2 separate regions of the Homo sapiens genome follow, and region 2 is linked to region 1. The links are contacts of gene promoters, found by promoter capture Hi-C in human tissues and cell types (Jung and others, 2019). All regions are on one chromosome and are shown on one strand. Each heading gives the region's core, a stretch centred on a gene start or on the middle of the fragment in contact. The rest is flanking DNA. Distances are from core to core; before and after follow the strand shown. Region 1 holds the start of GRHL1 (grainyhead like transcription factor 1). Region 2 overlaps TAF1B (TATA-box binding protein associated factor, RNA polymerase I subunit B).

What was found. The method cuts DNA at HindIII sites, captures the fragments that hold promoters and counts their contacts. A contact is called where the count stands out against the background at its distance.
Region 2: a contact is called between a fragment that was not itself captured here and the fragment with the promoter of GRHL1 in region 1, in 2 of the 25 tissues and cell types used here (IMR-90 fibroblasts and bladder).

What each region holds. Positions count from the first base shown.
Region 1 is chr2:9,949,236-9,952,942 of GRCh38, reverse strand. It overlaps GRHL1 (grainyhead like transcription factor 1), which reads right to left and starts at 1,250. Exons shown (of 16, transcript NM_198182.3): 1 at 1,090-1,250. The coding sequence starts at 1,109. LOC105373422 (a long non-coding RNA gene) reads left to right here and starts at 2,090. Exons shown (of 3, transcript XR_922784.4): 1 at 2,090-2,238. RefSeq lists silencers at 960-1,499, 1,590-1,639, 1,740-1,789, 1,940-2,019. The HindIII fragment of the contact is 17,390 bases long and covers 1-3,707 here.
Region 2 is chr2:9,849,355-9,853,061 of GRCh38, reverse strand. It overlaps TAF1B (TATA-box binding protein associated factor, RNA polymerase I subunit B), which reads right to left. Exons shown (of 15, transcript NM_005680.3): 3 at 3,602-3,689; 4 at 1,424-1,521. Among named protein-coding and RNA genes, the nearest start is that of TAF1B, 7.7 kb to the right of the region's middle. The HindIII fragment of the contact is 6,134 bases long and covers 1-3,707 here.

The DNA of each region.
Region 1 (3,707 bases), core at 1-2,500:
TGAAATATGTTTCAGGCAATAATTTAACTGCATATTCTACAACATAAGAGTAATCCATTTAAGATACTCCATACAAAATATCTATCTCATCCAGAAAAAGAACACACTGACAAAAACCGATCCTTCACAAATAACTAAGAAACTGGGAGGGGTACCTATCTGCCTTAAACTTCCTGATCTGAAATATACTGACTGGCCTGGTGCGATTTCCCTGTTTTTTCTTTAGTAAGTTTTTAAAATTTTTAGGACAATTTTATATTTTCAGAAAAGCTGCAAAGAAAATACAGAAAACTCCCTCGCCCAGTTAATCCCCCATGCCTTATTACACTACCACCTCACATTTGTCGAAATACGCTTTTAAATCACACACTCTAAAAAGCATATTAGCTTGTACAGTACTTTCTCGTTTAACACCCGGATTTCAAAGTTTCATCCTCTTGATTCTCTCGAGCACTAAAAACACGGTAATCTGTAATTACCATCAATGATGCAAGTGGCAAAATAACTCCTACAGCCGTTTTCCCACTCATGCCGCCAGCCAGGGAAAAGAAAACGCCCGGACATCGGGGCACTTCAACCTTTCCCTACATTTCTGTTTTGGAGGTTCCAGCAGGTCGCCGAGTGACGAGCCTGAGACCACAGATTACCTGGAGAAGTCCACCTGTCCCGACGCGGCGCGAGCCCCACCAGGCTCCCGAGGCCGACCGGGCAGGAGAGGGGGGCGGGGAGGCCCGGGGGCGTTGGCTGCGCCCCGACCTCGCGCCGCACCCGACCGCGCCGGGGGCCCGGACCCCAAGGTGCGCGCCCGAGGGGACCCAACCTGGCCGCGGAGGAGGGGAGGAGGGTGGCCCCTCCGGTGTCGAGTTTCCCCGAGGACAGGGTCTCTCCTCCCGAGGCTCCGACCGAACAAAGAGCACGGCAGGGCTAAGGGGCAAAGGCCGTGGCGGCGTGGAGTGGACAGCGGCCCCCGGCTCGCGCCCCGCGCCCGCCCGCCCGCGCGGCCTCGGGTCTGCGCCCGGCTCGCTCGCTGCAGGTGCGGCCCCTCAGCGCGGCCCCCCCGCGGCGGCCGGACTCCTGCGCCTCACTCACTTGTCGTACTCCTGTGTCATCGCGCCCGCTCGCCGCTGCCGGGCCGCAGAACTGGACTTTCGGGTTGGGACAGTACACCCGATCCGGGGGGAGGAGGCGGCGGCGGCGGCTGCGGGTCCGGAGCGGCGGCCCCGACGGGTTGGGTTTGCTTTTCTCGCTCTGAGCCGGCTCCGCGCGGGCTGCGCGCACTGGGCGCCGGGCTCGGCCGCTCATTGGCTGGCGATGCGCCGGCTGGGGGCGAGGCCTCGGGGCTGGGAGGCCGGTCGCGCCTCCTGATTGGTCGGCGAGAAGAGCGCCGGGGCGGGGCTGACGGGGACGAGCGGCGCGGGGCGGGGGGCGGGGGCCGCGCGTTCCGCGAGGTTGCGCCCGGGACTGCGCTCCCGGGGCTGCGCGCCCGACTCGCGGCCGTACGCGCCTGCCCTGACAGGAGAGGGAGCGCTGCGGCTGCGGCGCGCACCCGCCAACCTCCGCGCGCACCGAGAGCGCCCCCGCTCGCGCCCCGCCACCGCCCCCGCCGCCCCCGCCGTCCCCGCCGTCCCCGGCCATCCCCTTCGCGACGAGCCCCGGCCGTACAGCCGCCTCCTTCTTCGCTCACTCAGGCCTCCGCGCCCCGTGCCCACATTGCCCGCTGTTCCGGCCCCAGCGCCCCGCGCTGCCCCTGCGCTCGCCCGGCGGGGGCGCCTCTGCCGGTCGCCGCGCTCCCCGGTCGCGCGTCTCACCTCTCGGTTCTCGCAGGCTGTCACGCCCGAGTCCCGTGGCTTCCCCCGAGAGCCGTCTCCGGAATGTCCCTTCTCCTGGCCCACCGCGGCCGCGCGCTTTTAGGATTTCTTGCCCTCGCAGCTCCCGCGGTCCCCTCGGCGGCAGTCCCTGGGGCTCCGCGATGTCTGTGCCCCGCAGCCTCCCGGGCGCCACTTCCCCGCGCGGCCGCCCCACGCTGCCCGTGCAGTCGCGCGCCCCGGGCCGGCCCCGGGCACCACTCCACCGCGACGGCCCCCACTTGTCCTTCCCGAGCTGCCGTCTTTCCCAGGGTCCGCTCACTGAGTCCCCACATGCCCAGCGTCGGACCTGACCCTCGGACAGGCGCGGCCCCAGACGCCGGGGACAGGGCAGTCAACAGAACAGACACAACTCCTCGCCTTCCTAGTTGGGGTAACGGGCAATACAAAAACAAGTAAATGGTGTGGCTGGTTGGAAGGTAAAGCAGGCAGGCCCTGGGGAGGCGGGGAGGAGCGAGGCTTTCAGGCTTGAAGGAGATGAGGGGCCACGAAGGTGGGACTGTACCTGAGGCAGGGACCCTGGTGTGTTTTGTGACCCTTGAGGAGACCCGGGTGGCTGGTGGGGCACAGGGAGGCGGGAGCTGCGGTCAGAGATAGTGGGCGCAGGGGAGCGGATTGAGCAGGGCCTTGCCGGCTTCCGTAAGGACTGTGGCTTTCCCTCTGGGCTAGGTGGGGACGCCTTGGAGGGGCTTGGAGCAGGGTAGTGACAGGGTCTCACATTTTAAAATAGTTCTCTGCTGCTGCGTGGTGGGGACCAGGTAGGAGGCCATTGCCATGATGCAGGCCGAGGGCAATAGAGTGAGGTGGTGGGAAGTGGCCGAATTCTGGATATGCTTTGAAGGTGGGACCAGCAGGATTGTCTGAAAATTGGATATGGGGTGTGAGAGAAAGAGAGAATCAAGGATGACTACAGCGTTTCCAGCTGGGCAACTGGAGGAATGATTTGCCATCCCCTGGGATACAGAAGACCTGGGGCATAGAAGATTTGGGGGAGAACGAGAGTCTGTTTTGGACGTGCTAAGCTCAAGATGTATGGGAGATAAAAATCCATGAATCAGGTGGGCTCCTGGGTACGAGGCTGGAGTGCAAGGGAGAAGTCTGGGCTGAAGCTCACATCTGGGCGCCGCCCACGTCTAGAGGCCATTTAAAGCCATGAGAAGGCAGGAAGGAAAGAGGATGGGACCCATGCTGGATCCAGGAGCCTCCGACACAGAAAGGCTGGGAGGAAGAGCCAGTGGAGGAGACAGAAGACGGGGACACCGAGGTCGGAAGCAATGGAAGCGTGGAAGCCAAGGGAAGGAGGTGAAGTGAGGAGCAGCATGAGGTCACAGGGCCCTCCTGCAGCCAGCAGTCCCTCCTCTGTGCCCTGGTCCAAGGCCTTCAGGGACCGGAATCGGCAGCCTCACTTGAGACCGCCCTTCGCAGTTTCTGTCCTCTGACCCCGGGCCCAGCACTGGATCCATGCAGCCTGTTGTTTGTTCTTACCACTAGTTTCCTGTTTAAATCATTTATTATTTTTTTCTTTTCCTTTTTTTTTTTTTTTTTTTTTTTGAGGCGGAATCTCCCTCTGTTGCCCAGGCTGGAGTGCAGTGCCGTGATCTCAGCTTACTGCAACCTCTGCCTCCTGGGTTCAAGCGACTCTCCTGCCTCAGCCTCCCAAGTAGCTAGGATCACAGGCGCCCACCACCACGCTCGGCTAATTTTTCTATTTTTAGTAGAGATGGGGTTTCACTAAGTTGACCAGGCAGGTCTCAAACTCCTGACCTCAGGCAATCTGCCCGCCTCGGCCTCTCAAAGTGCTGGGATTACAGGCATGAGTCACCGCGCCCTGCCAAATCAATT
Region 2 (3,707 bases), core at 404-2,903, 100 kb after region 1:
ACCCCCCCACTATCAGCTATCATACCTAATGCAATGACTATTATGGGTTAGCCTCTGTTGCTTCATGCTTCTGAATTTTTAATTCTTAACGCCTTTCAGGGTAGGCCCAGCATCCATTTAGGCCATGCACTGAAATCGTGGTTGTTCTGTTTGGACTTGCCCCAACCACCAGTTTGAACAGCAAAGGCTCCTCTACAAATCTTTCCTTGGTGACTGCAGCCCATGTTGATCTTTCTCTGTTCTTTTTTTGCCTTTAATATCACTTATGAGGGCCAGGTGCTGGGGCTCATGCCTATAATCCTAGCACTTTGAGAGGCCGAGATGGGCAGATTGCCTGAGCTCAGGAGTTTGAGCCCAGGCTGAGCAACATGGTGAAACCCCATCTATACTAAAATAGAAAAAATTAGCTGGGTATAGCAGTGTGTGCCTGTAGTCCCAGCTACTCGGGAGGCTGAGACAGGAGAATTGCTTGAACACGGGAGGTGGAGGTTGCAGTGAGCGAAGATCATGCCAGTGCACTCCAGCCTGGGCAACAGAGCGAGACTCCGTCTCTTAAAAAAAAAAATCACTTAGCATATCACCATATAAATTCATGTCTATTCATTTCACATATGCATAAATCCCTCTCCCCAACTAGGCTGGACCTCTCAACACTTGGTTTCCAATGAAGCATATGAAGCAAGTGAACAACTTGTTGCTAAATAACTGGCTTTTTAAAGCATTCCTTAAATGACTTTTACTAGATGAAGGAATATGAAATTCAAATAATTGCAGAAATACTGTGTTGCTCCAGGAAGGCAGCAAAGTCAAAGAGTGGTCCCCAGACCAGAAGCATGGGTGTCCCATAAGAACTTGTTAGAAATGCACATTCTTGGGCTCTACTCCAGACATACTAACTCAGAAATTCGGGGATTAAGGTCCAGTGATTGGTGTTTTTTCAAGCACTCCAGGTGATTCTGATGCACTCAGGTGAACGACTGGTTTAGCATATCGCTGTCCAAAGTGCATTCTGTGGAACTCAAGTCCTGATGGACGTTATGTACATACACCAAACGATTTTGTTCTCAAATTGTGAATAACACACAGGACATTCCCTGGAAATTAAACAAGCACATTAACACACAAAAGGTACTAATAAACCCCCAAAGTTATTTGAGTTTTACTTTGTTTAACCTGTTGTTTCCTAAGTATCTGAAGACTAAAACCTTTAAATTTTTCTTTTGGATGTATTGCTTATTTACATCCTGTAGAACACACTTCCAGAACTGCTAACCTACTAAAAGGATTAAAGCAAAAACATCAGAAAAATTATTCTTCCAGTAGCCCTAGTGTTACTACTGATTTCTCCTTAGTTCCACTATAAGTCTTACTGTTCTTTAAACAAAAATATGTAAAGCTAACATCTAGTCACAAATGTACTTACCTTTAACTCTGGGCCTACTCCAAGGTTCTTTAAGGCTTCTGCTTGTTGATAAAGAATATACTGGAAACCTTCACACACATACCAATCCCAGCCTTTTTCTAAATGACAAATAGCATGTTTTAGCATATACATTCCTAATTTACTAACTTTAATGCTACTACAGTTACAATTTGTGTTTTACACATTGCGACTTGAATTTTTCTTTTTTTTTCAATTAACCCAGAACTTAGCAGCTTAGCATCTTGAATTTTTTTGTACCATTCAAGAGGGCTTCCATTCTTATATTCTCTTGTTTCCAACCTGGCAATGTGTACACAAATGCTGAAACTAAATATTTTGTATAATTTCCGATTTCAAATGTTTTCCATTATCTGTATTTTTCTGAAATATTAACCTAAGAGGCAGAAAAATGAATAGTCACCATGTTAAAAAAAAGTGAAACGAGTTTTAAAAATGTCTATTTTCCCGAACAATGCCCAGCAGAATCCTAAATGATGAACGATGCCCAGCAGAATCCTAAATGAAAGGACTAAGTCACTGCTTCCACCACTTTTCTGTTCCAACTCACAAGGGAACAGTGAACTGTTAGTGAATGAGTGAACGAATGTCACGATCTCATGATACCGGAGTATAGAAAAGGGCAGTAAGAACATTCAAAGAAAATAAACTGCTCAATGGCATTCTGCTTTTCCTGAAATGGTTCTAGGTTATAGGGAGAAAATGAAAGCAAGGTACTAATACTGATCTCAGCCTAGGTGCCAAGTGTGTGCCAGGTATCTTACGTGGGTTATTTTCTGGAATACTCAAAACTACCCTAAGAGATTGTGAAGAAACCTGCCACCACAATAGACAGAGTTACATGTTTAATGACAACTACGAGCTGAAGGAAAAGTCTGTGAAGACCCTTATGTTTTGCCCCTCACTGCTGGACAAATACTGTAACTCTTCCAAAAGCTTGTTATCAGTACTTTTTACACAGAGCTTCTGAGGTGTGTTACTGACTTCAAGATCTCTTCTCTGCAGAATGCCAGAGGACTTCAACTCTTCTCCCTTACCTGAATGTCACAAAGTCTCCCCACCTCTGCTAACTAACCCAATTCCTTCCCAGAAAGGGTCTCGAATTGTCTCAAAAGCCAATAATTTTGATGGGTCCATAAGTCGAGGAAGTTTAAACTCTTCAAGCTATATGCATATACTCCCTCTTCCTGCATACTGTTCTTAGAAACTGATAAAGTTGTATTTTAAATTTTGAGTCTGTGTTCCTATTTTCCATAATGGATGGCATTTTATTCTCATTTTACAAATGAAGAAATTAAGGGTGATGAGGTTGACTATAAGATACTTAACACCTAATATAAAGCACCTGAAGTTCCTTAAGAAATGCATGTTTAAACTACACATTTTAACTATTTAAGTAGGTCAAGGCAAAATTAATCAGGTTTTACTCCAATAAAATTTAAAAGTTAATCAGGTTTTAGCCTAATAAAAAGTCACTACTAAAGGCTAAGCAGAAACATGAGACAGCACCTAGGCAGTCACTGTTAGCATCTAAGAATGTCGGTGTATTTCACATATTTCATAAACACACACACACACACACACACACACACATATATATATATATTTTTTAATGTGTGTGTATCCTTAAAGCTATCTCATGTAGAAGAGTCCCCATTATCATCAGCCTGGTTTCAAACTTGGGGATTTGGTCCTAGCTACCTAGTCACAAAAATAAAAACCATCAGTTAGACTTTACCTAAGATCCTTCTCAACAATGGTTAATTATATGTACTCACTGGATTAATGAAATACTTTGCCTTTCAAAGCACACTCATGTTGAGGTCATTTTAAGGGAAAATAATTTTCCCAATTTTAAAAAGGTGTGTTCAAAATTCAACACAAGAAATGGATTTCTAGAAGTTGAATATCATATTTAACTCACCTAACCTAACAATTCCACGGTTGAATTATTTCAGAAAATAAGCATTTTTTCTATAAAAGCACCAGAAATAATATTCACCCACAATGAATACAGACATAGGATAGAAGAACGTATGCCAGTAGATAAAATCTGGCATTTTCTCTAGAACCTACTTAAAATTCCATTCCATGTCCTGACATCATGAAGGTGAAAGATGTGAATAAAGAATGTTAAGTACATATGAAGAAAGAACTTACCAGTATTGTTTTTTTTTTTAAGCCCCCGGTTGAGGGCTTTTATTTGGGTATTAGGAATAAGATCAGTGTTTGTAACTTCCTGATATCTCTGCAGGAAAGAGAAAAA